2 separate regions of the Homo sapiens genome follow, and region 1 is linked to region 2. Evidence: promoter capture Hi-C in human tissues and cell types (Jung and others, 2019). All regions are on one chromosome and are shown on one strand. The core of a region is centred on a gene start or on the middle of the fragment in contact, and the rest is flanking DNA. Distances in the headings are between cores, read along the strand shown. Region 1 overlaps LOC124901975 (a long non-coding RNA gene). Region 2 holds the start of NECAB1 (N-terminal EF-hand calcium binding protein 1).

Region 1 (7,587 bases), core at 76-2,575, 260 kb after region 2:
TTGGGTGTCATTACCTCGATCCTATGGCCAAGGGCCTGAAAAAAGTAAGTTATCTTTGACCTTGATGAATTGAAGATCATTCTGGAGCAGCTTAAGATTTTGTTAAGAGTAATGAAAACAGTATAAGGCAGAATGAATCTATTGCATCTTACTTTCACACAAGTATTTCTCACAGTTACTGGTACCATGTACATTCCTAACAACTGAGCATTGGGTCTATGAGTGATCCATGGGAAACAGGAGGAATGCCCTGACTACGAAAGTCAGTTTCCTTAATTTAAGGGATTGCATGTCAGTTGGTCTGCTTATTCTGGGTACTGAAATTCTGAGTAGACTTTTATCTTTAACAAAATAAAAATTACTTATGATTACAACAAAATAAAAAGTCAAGAATAATCAAACCACCCTCTGGGATAAGAATTGTATGAAGTTGCTATGCAGGAAACAACAACAAAATGAAGATCTAAGCAAGGGATTGCAAATGAATTTAGTGGAATTCTGTCATAAACTTCCTGACGTCCTCCTATGGGAGTGGTAAAACCCCTCAGCAGGTGGGACTATGGGGTGGTTTTAGTAATTGGGTCTGTAACTGGGTCTTCAGCTGTCTTTGTTCATTGATCCACTTTTTTCCCTCTGTCTCACTGACCTTCTCCCATGCCAGTCCGTGCTGCAATGCTTGTTTCTATGGATTAAATTTCTAAATATCTCTTGTAGAGGATTCCTCAGTTTCTCTTCCTGCAGTTGCTCAATGGTTAGATTTTAAAGAAATTGCTTGTGAAGTGAATCACTAAAAGCACTTGCTTTTGCTTATATACTGTACAAAATTGTATTTTTGGAAATTCTGGTTGATAACCCCTTTTTCGCCCTTTGTATCTCTACCAATTTGCAGCAATGTTTCAGGAGAATAACATTACACCCTCTATTTGATCCATAAGGAACTTGTACATTAAAACCTGCCTGCATTTACTCTGACATTGGTGGAATAACAGCCTCACGGTCTTTCTTAAGAGACATCTTCTCTGATTGTAGCAGCCTGAGGCTTTTCTATTTACTTCTATGTGTATGTGTTGTATAGGTGCAGTACGGTTTTTATAAGCACTGTCCTAACTCAGTTTGGAGATCCTGGCTTGAGGCTAGTCAGTTTTTCTTCTAGAGAAGCTGATTAAATCCAAAACTCCAACCACCTCCCTTCTTGGTCTTTTCTAATTTGGGTCACTATCAATGAGCTCCAATCACCCCAGGGCCAGGTACCAGATAACCAGGGACAGCCCCTGTGCCCCAGAACCTGCTGATAGTATTCAAAGTAGCCAATTCTAAACCTGTTTACCATGCCTTGTCTGTTTCTTCCTGCAGAAACCACAATTAAAAGTTGTTCTTCCTGCCTCTGCTTCTTGACCAACCCCTGAGTGGCCCTGTATAGTGTTCTCCCTAGGAAACTGTGAGTATAACAAAACTATAAAAACCGTGCTTTTTCTCTCTTGACCTGCATCTGGCCTCACCATAGCCACCATACCTCACCCATGGTAAAATGGTCAAAACAATAGTTCATGCATGTTCCAAGTTTTCTCGATGATTATACTTCTTTTCTGTCACTCTAATACATACCGAAGAAGAGAAGAAAAGGAAATGATATAATAGCAAACAAATTCTCCATGTTCTAACAGATCTTCAATAGTTTTAAGGTAAATACCTAAAACAATTTGATGTAATACATGTGGGAGCAGGCTATGAGCGATTCCATTGGAATTCACTCAACATTTTTCAGATGGTTTGTTTTTACAGTTGTGTTCCACATAATGACATTTCCATTAATGGCAGACTGCATACATGACGGCAGTCCTGTAAGATTATAACACTGCATTTTTATTGTCCCTTTTCTGCTTACACATGTTTAGTTACACAAATACTTTCATTGTGTTGCCACTGCCTTATGGTATTCAATAGAGTAACATGCTGCATGAATTTGTTGCCTAGAAATCATGGGCTATAACTGTATAGTCTCAGTGTATTGTAGGCTGCACCATCTAGGTTTGTGTAAGTGCACTGTATGATATTTATATACCAATGAAATCGCCTCAGGATGCATTTCTCAGAATGTGTACCAGTTATTAAGTGACACATGACTGTATTTCATCATTTCTAGCATTTGAAGATTCACACTTCGTGGCATTATTTAAGGTTTGTAAGCTCAACTACTCTTTTGAAAAAGCCAAAACAACGTACAAAACATCTAAGCTTTCAGCAACTTCCAGGGAATAGAAAGTTAGTTTCATGTTAGCTGAAGTTATCCAAGGTTCCCAGCCTGGGACCCTGTGGCTGTAATCTTGTAGGCTGTCTCTGACTTCTAATGAGTTCATTCCATCCCTAGTGCTTATTCAGTCCTTCAAGGGACCCAGTTGTTTTCTCAAGTATATTATAATCTGAAGTAGGGGTGGACACAATTTTCCTGTAAATATCTTCAATGCCTTATCTACTTTCTAAACTTATGAGTAAAGGAAATTTGGAGAAATTGAAAAGAAGAAAAAAGAAAACAATAAGTAAAGAAGGAATTGCTGTTTGTTGCAATAAATTTAAAATAGTGATACATACTGCTTATAAAATAATGAAATATACCTAGCTATAAACTTCAGATATACATAAGAATGGTACTTAATATTGAGTTATATCTACATTAATACTCAACATAAAATGAAGAATTGAAATAGATTCTTTAATTAATTTACCTCTTTCCATCTCCCTTCCTCCAGTGTTTTCTCAGGAGGTTTTATTCTATATTTTTCTTTGCTTGGATAACTAGTAAGTGCTGTATAATTTTCTGAACAAATTCATGAGGGATAAATAATGTCACCAAGTTTACTATGGATCAATATTTCGAGTATAGTTAAGAAAAAACTATCCCCAACAGAATCTTACTTGTAATATGATTCATCATTTAGAGCTACTGTAAATAAAGCACTTTTGAAATTTAAGATAAATCTTATCACTGTGGTCTTATGTGCACCTGATGAACAATTCATCAATAATTAATCTAAAAAAAATTCCCAGTTGATGAATTCAAACAGAATTTTTCTCTCTAATTAGTTCACTGTAGAAATGGGTATTTCCTACTGTTATTGTATATTCTTGAATATGCATAAAACTGATGAAAATTACATGACTTGCTTTGATAGCTTAACAATACTGAATTGTGGTAATTGGGCTAAATTTTTTATGCCTGGATTCATTCAATGAAGTATTTCCTGTGCATATAAAATAAGATTCAGTTTCTAAAGCCCATATATATACTACACAGCTCATACCTCAAGAATATCATTTTAAATAGTGGGTCACGTTTGTAAGAGCAAAAAAGACTATTTACTAGAAGAAGTGGAATATTTAATTTTTAATTTTTTAAATAAACTAACAAATATTTGATATATACCAAAGAATACATTTAACATATATGTAAGTTACAGGGCATGATCAATGGATTTAATGACTGGCTTTTATACTTTAACTCTTAACAGGTCCATCAATGGATCTGTCTTGCATTTTTCCTGTTTGGTCCATGAATGGGCATTCTGCTGGAAAGAGGTCCCCAAGAGGTAGCTTGATCTCCTTGTGTCTCTTCTCTAACCTTCAATCACTGCTTTCATCACCCATCTGTCTAAGAGCCAGCCTTCTTTGTTTCAAGGAATAGAAACCAAGTTCCAGGAAATAGAAATAGAAGATGCCCCCTAACCACATCTGGCCATCCCACAATTCCTGTATTTGCATGTCAATGGTCCAGTTGCATTTGTAGACCAGTTCCTACGTGTATGGCTCTGATTGACCCAGTTTTATTGGTCCACTGTTGGATCAAACTACCATTTCCAGAGACATAGGGTCACAGGGTATAAATGTGGCTGTTGAGGCCAGACCTGGGGATTGAAGGAAGCTTCCAGAGGGAGATACACAGTTAACTGAGTACACAGTCTAAAGTTGTCCACAGTGAAATATCCATTTCCCATTTCCTAGTGTTTTGCCTGTAGCAATCATTTCTAGGTGAAGAATCAGAATTTCTAGCTTTCATTCAGGTGATAGCTCTGAAGTAGCTACTGCATGTGGGCATTATAAATATTGGATATTTTGCTTCAGACCCGGATTTTTTGAGAGAAAGCAGCTTATCCACTTCTTAGTTGTACAAAATGCTTGGTAGTTAAGCACCATCTGATTATTGGTCATCTCTTTCCAGAACCAATTTCTGTAGGGTGAATTGGATTTTCTCTAATTTTCTAGCTTGCTCTTTGGCATTTGTGCTAAAAGTTGAAGGCTGCAGGGAAGAAACTGGCTGGGTTGTATCTACCTGGATCCTATGTTTTGATACATTTAAATATTGGGAGGAAAATATTTTGTTTCCACTCATCAAGAAAAATTGCAGTGCACGAATCTGTATCTTTATCTGAAGTATAGCCAAATATATGTAGTGGTTATGGCATAAATATTCTAGACACAGAGAAAGAAATTTCTATTTTTTTTCAGAGAATTTTGGGTTAAGTCGGTAAGCAAAGAGTAAGTAAGGGATCAATTTGTTTTCCAGAAGAAACTGGCTGAAGCTACCTAGCATTACCCTGTGAACCCCACCTCAAGGCAGTGGGGGAATATAATAGATCCAGTAGCACAGAGTTATTCTATAGTAATTTGCCATTGCTTTTAATGGCAAAAACCACAATTACTTTCGCACCAACCTAATACTTCTTACTTAACATATGGGGAACTTGGTGATTTCTCTATGTCATTATCAGCACCTCACACAACACTGCAGGAGAGCATACTTGCTCAGATCTTGGACTCTGCATCAGTCAGAGTTGGGCTGGAATCTTTCCTCCATCTCTGTTTGTGTAATGTTGATCAATAACCCAGGCTCTTTGAATTTAATTGTCTCCATCTAAAATAATGTAATAGGCTCACCCTGTGGATCATATTAATGTTGGAAAAGGACTTAGTATAGGATCTAGGATCTGATTAACACTCAACAGGAATGGCTAACATTTACTGAGTACTTACAGTATGCCAGACAGAACACTATGTACTTTACATACACACTGAATCCTCATTATGATCCTATGAAGAGGTGCTACTTCACAGATTAGGAAATTGAGGCAGAAAATGTTCAGAACCTTGCCCAGGGCAACAGTGACAAAGCGAGGCAATCTGGCTAACATCTATGATCTTAACACTCTGTCGTGATGCCTTCTCAATGAATGATAGTTACTATTATTGGTGTCATTGCTGTTATTGTTGTTGCTGCTGTTACTTGGAAATTAGAGAATTCTGCACTCAAACTGAAGCACCAGTCACTAATTTGGGAAAGAGCTCTCACTATTCCAAAGGGATAACCAAGTTAGGTATATCTGGAAAAGGGTATTTGATGATATTAGTGTATAGGTAAAGGATATTCTATATAAGCACAGATCTTATTTTCCTCAAGCCCTCAATCTGCTTCCAAAATATCCCAGAATCTTCAATACTGTCTTTGGCTACTCAAAGTCTCAAAGTTGGCTGTCCTCCCCAACTTCCTCTTGCTCCTTAATTACTTCCACTTTCTGTCCATCAACAATACTCCTAAATCCCTTGGTGTGACTCACATCTCAACCATGTGCTAGAATGAAATATAGCTAGTTATCTAGTTAACCCCAAAAGGTAGATTACCTGAAAGGTTCCCAAAGAAATAATATTTTGAAATAAGAGCATATTAACAGAAATAAAGTTATAATCTCACACACTGTGTTAAAGTTTTGATGAATTTCAAGTAGCGTAGGGATTGGGGTAGGAAGAAGGGTTTGAAAGGAGGGGGGATGATTTTCTAACAGTTAAAATCACACTGAAGATTTTATCCTGCTATTAGGTTACACTGATTATAAAATTATTCCTAGAGAATAAGATAGCCTCTGGACCGTGCATCTCACTCTCCTCAAACATTGAGTACTTTTAATTTGACCAGCTGAAGGGGTACATTCAGCTACTCTCATTTAATCATTATGTTTCCAAATTAGCTCTTTACAGTAAGACTTAATACCATCAACTCTTATTAAGAAGAGGGACGGCCGGGCGCGGTGGCTCACGCCTGTAATCCCAGCACTTTGGGAAGCCGAGGGGGGCGGATCACGAGGTCAGGAGGTCGAGACCATCTTGGCTAACACGGTGAAACCCCGTCTCTACTAAAAATACAAAAAATTAGCCGGACGTGTTGGCAGGCGCCTGTAATCCCAGCTACTCAGGAGGCTGAGGCAGGAGAATGGCGTGAACCCAGGAGGCGGAGCTTGCGGTGAGCCAAGACAGCGCCACTGCAGTCCGGCCTGGGCAACAGAGCGAGACTCCGTCTCAAAAAAAAAAAAAAGAAGAGGGGGTAGGGCATATGAGCTGTCACTAGCCTCTCCGTTAAAGTCAGTTTACAAGAAATATGGATCTGAATAATAACATGACCAGGAGAAAGCTTGATTAAATCATACCATAGACTTTGCTTTAGGTAAAGAGTCAATTTTGATAAACAGATGAAAATTGTGTGTTTATGTAATAATGTTTTTGTTAAAAAATTATATTTCCTATCTTAGCATTGTGGTGTGTTGAGACATATACAATCACAGACTTACATGACATGAAGACACACTTTTAGGAATCAGTGCTAATACGTAACCTAAAGACCCTCATACTCAATGCTTATGAGAATTTGTTAGACAGTGGCTGCAGGAATTGATATTAAACATATTTTTTCTAACAAGTGGGACTCAGAAACACTAAGAGTTTCCTGCATGGCATCAGCTGTTCTATGGTCAAACCAGGAACTGAGCCCAATCCTGGGAAAACAAAGGTCAGGCTCTTTTCAGGATACCTTATGGACCAGAGGCCAGCTTGTCTTGCTGTGCCATGCTTGGGGCATTTGCTCAGCTTGTGTATATGCTTCGACTCACCACTTCATGTCTGTTTCTATCTTCATTTCTTGCCACATCCCATCTGCTTCTTTGTCTTACAAGAGCACCATACTATTTGTAATTTCCAGAACACATTACAATTTTTCTTTTCTTTTTCTCACAATGTTCTCACTGATAGGCTTGACCCCCAAACTCAATTATAAAAGAATGACATAAAAATTGATAGAAATAGAATTTTCTTGTATTTTCTTCCCCCACCCCATTGTCATGTGCACTCCACTTGGGAGACCACTGACCTAAAGCAGGTGGTTCTGAAATTTAAAAAGGGTAATTCTGTGAGCTCCATTGTGGTAATCATTTCATAATGTATACCTATATCCAAACAACACACTGTGTACCTTGGATATGTATAATTTTTATTTGTCAATTATACCTCAAGCTAAAAAAAATAAATTGGAAACACACACATACACACACACATAATAATCAGCAGATGCTCTTTGTGAAAGTGCAAATTTCCAGGTTTTCTCTCAGACACTGTCTTCAGTGGAGACAAGATGGGGCCAGGAATCTGTAATTTTGAGATACTCCTCAGGTGATTCTGATGCAGAGGCTTCATAGATCACATTTGAGAAAAACTGTTCTAGAGAAAAGAAGGCATTTGAAACCATCCCTTATTAAAATATGAGTTCATCCC
Region 2 (7,200 bases), core at 1,611-4,110:
TGGCAAATCTATCTCTGATTTTCTTGTTAAAATCTGTCTCTAGTTTCCAACCAGCTGGTCATGTATCATGTCATTAATAGTGTTCTCAGTAGCAGTTTACATCATTTCTTAAATGATTGATTATTCCAGTGACATTGCAATAAAAAGCACTGCAAATCAAAGTTTTCCTCAAATTTGGAAATTGTCTGTTTGATACAGAAGACACACAGAAAATTACCTGTTCCAGTTTGGAACAGGTAATATCTATCACCTATGTATTATAATATGAAGATAATTTTAAAAGTAATCTTTCTTGCTAGTGCCATAGAATATATTAAATCAAATAAATAAAGTGATGCATGTATATTTTATATTTTATTTTGCTAAAAGTGGTATGATCCAGAAATGAATAATTCACAAATCCCTAAGTAACAAATCATTTTTCATATCACATATTTCACCAGTGTTAGATTTTTCACAAAATAACTCAAAGAAAAGTGTAAACAAAATCTTTTCCATTTGACACAAAATCCAATGGCAGGTTTTTTTTGTAGACTCTAGCATTTTACCGACAAACAAGCATGTCAACACCTCTCATAGGGAATCAGTTTCCTATTTTTATTTTTAAATCTCTGAAATATAAAAGGCAAGACCACCCTATTCACAGACTACAAGTTCCTTTAGTACAGGGACCTGATGCTATTTGTTTACAGACTTGGAAACAATCATGCATACATAATAAAAAATGAAATTTTAATTTTCTCTTCGAAAACATTGCAGTTGAACACTTAAGCAATGGCTGGTGTATGAGTCAGGAGGATGACTTTCCATTTGTGTAGTTTTAATCCATTCATCTCCACACTATCACCGGGGTTTGTTAAGTGCTTTTTAAAAAGCACAGGGAAGCACTTGATCTCAATGGGGGACAGAGTGAAGATCAGGTCAGAATGAATGGAGGCCCCACTTGTCCCCTTTGAATCAACTCCATGGCCCCTTAATTGTCAGCCTCATAACTGACATGATTTCCAGGGGCCCTGACTTTTCAGGCATGTTGTGGTGCCCTTCTCTTTTCTCAGCTTACCTCCTCAAGTGCTTTATGGCCCTGAACAGCAAAACTTGAATAAGATCAGCCCGTTAAGCCATGAGCACCAATAATACCATCTGACTGACCCAAGCCAGGCAGAGATAAATGCTCATGAAGGATAAGGTACTTAACCACCTGATTGGGTGGCTGAATAGGAATGACCACACCTGAGATTTGGTGGGAAGGAGATGACCAGCCCAGAATGCCTGGATCACCAATTGGAGCCACCAGGTGATAAAGGGTGAAGGCTGCCAGTACACACAGTTGAACCTCACTTCTATCATTTGCCTTACAACAGTTTGAATTATTGATAGGAGTTTCTTTCCCTAGAATTAAAAAGAATTCTAGCCAATCCATTCAAAATAAACTTGGGAGAGCGCCTCACATCCTCCTATCCTCTTTATCTCTGCCTCACCATTATGATACTAATTGATTTCCTCATATTTTCATCTCTCCACAAACAAATGTATCTGGCTTCTGGCCCATCTCCCACTCATTTTGACTTTAATAAGAAAAGATAACTCAGAGAAGGGTAAAGGACAGAGCACGTAGCACTCCTCCATGTCCTTTGACATTTTCTATCATGCCTAAACAAGAAGCAGACAGAATTGTCCCCACTGAGATAGACACGACCTCCGGCAACAGCATGAATGTGACAACTGAGGGGCTGGGAGAGCCTGGAGCCCGGCAAGCAGCTGAGAGAAACCCCAAAGCAGAGAGAAGAGATAGGCAACAGACGGAAAAATAGAGAAAACAGAAACAGCAGGCAGGAGAGGAAAACAAAATTGAGAAATAAATAAGAAATAAAAGTGCTGTAAAGATAGAAACCACACCATACGGGAAAAAGAAACAGCACAGAAGGAAAAGAAAGGATGTAATCAGATCAGAGTAATGAAGGCAGGCAGTCGATACCGAAGTGAGAAATTGGACCAAAGGGAAAATAGTCAAAAGCTAGAATTCATGGAGGTGACAGTAGTAATTAGAACTTGGAGAGAAGGAGAATATCAGGGAAGAAAAAGGGAAAATAGAAGAGGTGGCAGTGACAAAAAGAATCATTATGAAAATGATATTTCCCACCGCTGTAAAAAGAAAAACAAATATGCTCAAAGTAATTGTTTTCCGAGGGGGTCTGGGGGAGGATAACGAGGGCATCTCAATCGCTGCTGCTTCCCTGGCTGGGTTGCTTGAGAGCATCCACGAGTGTGAAGGCTGCGAATAGGGCGCGTTAGAGAGATGAGTTGGGACACTGTCCCCACCTCACCCCCCACACCTTGTGCCTCTTTAAAATGTCCTATGCACTCAAATGTTGTCTGTTGTATTTGCAATAGTGTCTCTACGAAACCCAGCCTGTTGGAAAATCTAACTTTTGCAGTTTTCTTAAGGGTGTTAAGCCACAAGCTGCAGGTCTGGGACAGCCCTAGCTGCAAGTTAAGGGACAGTCGTTCCTCCTGCATTTGCATCGGTAGTTCTCGCCTGTGTTCTGGGGACAAAGCATTGGCTGGTCAGCACCTGAGCCGAACCCCTTCCTTTCGGGGAAAAGAAAGGTGCTGGGAAGCAACCGCCCAGCTCCCACCATCTGTACTTACGTCGAGGAAGATCGACATGCCCTTGGACAGGTGCAGAGCAGAGCTGAGCTCCTCCGAGGAGTTGTTGGAGGACGGCGATGTCTCCTGGGAATCTTCCATCCTCGGGAGCCCTGACGGCCTCAGGCGGAGCGGGGCTAGGCGGACGCACCGGCTCTGGCAAGGGCGCGGCCGCAGCTGCTGCTTCGCCGCCGCCGGGCTCTGGATCCGGGAGGGTGTTCGCTCCCGCGCGCGCCTCCCTCCGCGCTCTCCGCGCTCTCCGCGCTCGGTGTCCCCCCCTCCCTCCTCCGGCCTCTGCGCTCCCACGCGCTCCAACTCTCGCCTCCTCCTTCCCGTAGTTGACGGCGTCTGGATCCATGTCATCCCCGCACGTAGCAACGCGCGGAGGGGAGCGGGCTCTGCCCCCGGCACGGCCATCGGCCACGGCTGGAGATAGCCTGGGGACCCCTACCAGCCCCACGACGGCCCCAAGTGCAGGGATGGAGGAGGGCGTCCGGACAGAGAGAAGGGACGAATGGCAGGGCGTTTGTCCTGAGCAGCCAAAGCGCAAGGTAAGGACGCCCCCAGCCTCACCTGAGTGGATGCCATAAATAGGGAGGAACTCAGAGAGGTTCTACCTACTCTGCTTTTGGTCCCAGTGGCCTGTCTGCCCGACCTTCCCCAAAGGCGGGGGCAGGGTTCACGAATACCAGCAATCGAGGAGCAGCTGGTTTGGTGTAGGGATTAAGCCATTCGGTGTTATCTTGCGCTCGAAGGACTTAACCTGTAAGCCTCACTTTTCCTCATCAGTAAAATGGTTACACCGGTCTCACCCCAGAGGGTTCTGAGGCTTACCTATGGCAGTGCTGCTGACAAAGGCGGTGCTATGAACTCTGCCTAGAGTAGGCTTCGAAACGTTTGCTATGGGGCAAGGATTGTTAGGTAATGTTCAAATATGAAGTTTCCCAAAGTCACAAGACGAAGTCCTTATCTGTGTTTAAGCATTTAAACCAGGGTAATTATTCAATATTTGACGGCTTCTGCGAAGGCTGTAAAAATAGGAAACTGACCACACCTTTCATCAGGAGAGAGATCCAGTTTATTGGGCATCTAAAATGTGTATGTGTTGGTTACAAACTTGAGCTATCTGGGAGCGAGATAAGGCAAAAAAGAGGGAACCTTGTCTAAACAAGACTCTGCCTCTACCAGTGAGAACGGGTGAGGAGGATCCAGATCTCCATTTTGTGGCCTTTGGAGAAAAGTAAACATATTCTTCCTATAAGACAGGCCCACACACAACCAAAATGCTGATCAACATGTGAGTGTCTTAAAGGCATGTAAAACATGCTAGGGGTTTCTCAGGAGAGACAGGTTACACTCTGGCTGGGGGGACCAATAAAAGCTTGATGAAAGAAGCGGTATATGAAATGGACCTTAAAAATCAGTGGATACTCCATGCTTGATAGAAATAGAAGGAAAACACTTCCAGGCAGAAGGAACAGCGTAAGCAAAGCATGGCACCAGGAAAGCACGTGGAAGCTGGAAGTAGTCCACTGGGGATTCCTATAAACATACAGAATCCCAGATCCTACCTGGGCTTTCCAAATCCCAATACTAAAGTACTGTCTAGTCCAGAAATCCAAGTCCCCCTCACCCTAATGATTCATACACAGTTGCTATGTAGTAGGCTCAGGACTAGGGTGTGGCAAGTGGGGCCACTTGAGCACAGAATGTAAGGAGGCACTTGCTCTCAATCTCTATCCTGTGCTTGCATGATCCTGAGAATGATTTTCTTAAATTTTGCACCCTAGGTGTCTTGTTCACTTCACCCAAGTCCCACTGCTCCTTTGTAGATGGGTGCTTACAAAAAAAAAAAATGAATCCAGTTGTTCTCAACGCTGCCTGTACATTGGAATCACCTGGGGTGTGTGGTAACTTTAAAATGTGCCCACAAATTCATTGACATTCTTCCTATAGAGAAGTGGGTCCCCTCCCCTTAAATCTGAAAGATTGTGACTGCTACAATGAATGAAATGGAACAGAAGTGTTGCTATGTGCTTTCCGAGGGTAGGGGCATAAAAGCCTTTGCAATTCCACTTTTTACAGTGGATTTGCTCCTGGATTCTTGAACTTCCGTATAGGAAGTTTTTCTACCTTAAGCCACCATGCTTTGAGGAAGCCCAAGGTATATGGAAAGGCAAGTGTAGACACCTGGCTTACAGGTATAGCTAAGCAGAGCCTTTGCATTATCCCAGCCTCAGCAGCAGAAATGTCAATGAGGAAGCCTGCAAATGACTCCAGCTCCCAGCTCTTGCAGACATCCCTAGCCATGTGAGTTGTCCCAGCCAAAACCCCAGGCATCATGGAGTAAAGGCACACTACCAGTGCTGTGCTGTGTCAGAACAGTTGGACCACAGAATTGGGAACATAATAAAATGTATACCGTTTCATACAAATAAGTGTTGAGGTGGTTGGATTTGTAACAATAGATAACCAAAATAAGGAGCTAACCCTCCCTGCACAAACACACACACACACAAACCAAACTGATGCCTGTGCTTCATCCTCAAATTCACTTTCAATTAGTATGCGGTGGGCCCAGTGGATTAATGTTTGTTTGTTTGAAGATTTCCATGTGATTCTGATGTGCAGCAAGGATTAAGAATCACCAAACTTAACTGTGCTGTACATACAGTACAGGAAAAAAGTAGAATAAAATCTCAGAAAATAGGCAGAGGCTATAGGATGAAAATCTGTGAAGCCCGGGGATAGAACTCTGGACTTAATTAGGTAGAGAGTTAGAGACATTAAACTTAATCAGGGGTGAGATATTGATTGGAGCTGTGCTTTAGGAATATTCATCTGACATCTTTATGTGCATTTTCCTAATTAACTGCAAATTTCCTTACCTGAACAGTGAGAATAGACCCTTCTCTTTGACAACTGTTCATCAAAATAGATACAAAATCATTTAAAAAAAAAACATACTGGTCAACCCATCAGATAGACACAGGTCATTCAAATCACTGAAGGAGAAAAACCACGAGAAGGAGGGGGGCTGTCAACCATTAACATCAAGTTACTGAATTTATCAAAATAACATGTTGTTTATTCCTGCCATTGGATGAAGAATGGAATAGATTTTTCTGCAACAAGTGCAGTTTAAGTCTGACCCCTCTAACCCAAGTTGTGCGGGTCCCTCAGCCCTCAAATTCAACCACACAAGTGATAATATTTTTATGCCAATCCCATGGTAACAAGAATAGTTAATAAAGGAGACTTTCTCTGATTATAAATGAAGAACAGGAGAATAATCAGCAGTCATCATTCAAAACCAGGAAGCTGTTTGTAACACTTTAGTTACAAACACTTCAGTTACAGGAAGCTGTTTGTAACACTTTACTGACAATGAATGACATTTTCTGTACCTGTGGATTTGCTTATTTCCTCTAATGGTCTATCAAGGAGAAACATAAATTATTAAGCAATCAACCGATCATTATTTATTTTTATGATTCCTATGTGAACACAGGAATACATTCTGCTGTAACTGACTTCTCTTTTTAATGGAAATGTAATGTTCACAGAGGCTGTAGTAGAAAAAATGGCAATTAGATTCACATTCACAGACAAATTCAATAGGCTCTACGAAGTGGCAACCAAACATATTTTTATAGTTTTCTTTTTATCTAGATGGCATGCATTTTTGAAAGCAGTTTTCACACATTTTCGTGAAACACACATGCCTCACTGCTGTGCATAGTATCAGTCACAAACAGCAGACAACCGACTTGAGGGAGGAAATGCAACTTCTTTGTAGCAAGGGCCTAAAAAAAATAGAAATGTAATTCCAGATTCCAGCTCTCAGGCTTCCTATGATAAGACTTTGACGTGAAGATATTTCTAGCATTTCAGGAGATGATAGCTGTGTGGGAATATATTGTATTTCAATCCATCTCTGCCTTGTAGAAGAACTATTATCTAAACCATTTCAGACAGCTGGGAATCTATCTTATTTATATCTTAAATTCTAGGGAAGGTTATCCTTCCCTTTTGAGTGATGACTCAGAATCCTTTCAGTCAGGTTAGTGGACATTTTTGTTGCCTTGGCAGCTTAGGATCCAAATCCCCTTCCGCTTTAAGTGCCTATCCCCATGGTGTGTTTCCTGACTGGGGGCAGAACTCGCCCCTTCTGAAGGAAAGAAAGGAGATCCTCTCCCTCTTCTCTGGTAGCTGGAGCACAGGCTGAGAGCTAGGCTCAGCTGATAGGACACTTCACTTGTGTGTTTAAACCTGAATCAAGGGATGTGCGGGGAAGTTTATTAATGGCAGTAGACACTCACAGTGTAGTGTTGAGTGTGGCCACAGTGCCAGGGGAGCCCTGAGGATGAATTAATCAAATGGATAATGGCACTCTGTGATTTCAGCAGCCCTGTCCTCCAATCTTGATCTCGAGGCTTTCTGCCGACTTCCTGAGAGACCTAGTATCCTTCCAAAACTTTCTTTTCTGTTTTACCTTAGTCAAAGTTAGTTTTTTATGTTTGGATTCTGACAGATAAATTCAATTTAAATTTC

Evidence for each region. Contacts are between HindIII fragments. The study calls those that stand out against the background at their distance.
Region 1: a contact is called between a fragment that was not itself captured here and the fragment with the promoter of NECAB1 in region 2, in 4 of the 25 tissues and cell types used here (H1 embryonic stem cells, heart right ventricle, spleen and 1 more).

The regions. Positions count from the first base shown.
Region 1 is chr8:90,528,393-90,535,979 of GRCh38, reverse strand. LOC124901975 (a long non-coding RNA gene) reads left to right here. Exons shown (of 8, transcript XR_007061002.1): 3 at 1,354-1,438. Among named protein-coding and RNA genes, the nearest start is that of LINC01030, 74 kb to the left of the region's middle. The HindIII fragment of the contact is 7,720 bases long and covers 1-5,185 here.
Region 2 is chr8:90,787,435-90,794,634 of GRCh38, reverse strand. It overlaps NECAB1 (N-terminal EF-hand calcium binding protein 1), which reads right to left and starts at 2,860. Exons shown (of 13, transcript NM_022351.5): 1 at 2,650-2,860. The coding sequence starts at 2,748. It overlaps LOC105375633 (a long non-coding RNA gene), which reads left to right and starts at 2,467. Exons shown (of 4, transcript XR_928389.4): 1 at 2,467-3,197. The HindIII fragment of the contact is 16,269 bases long and covers 1-7,200 here.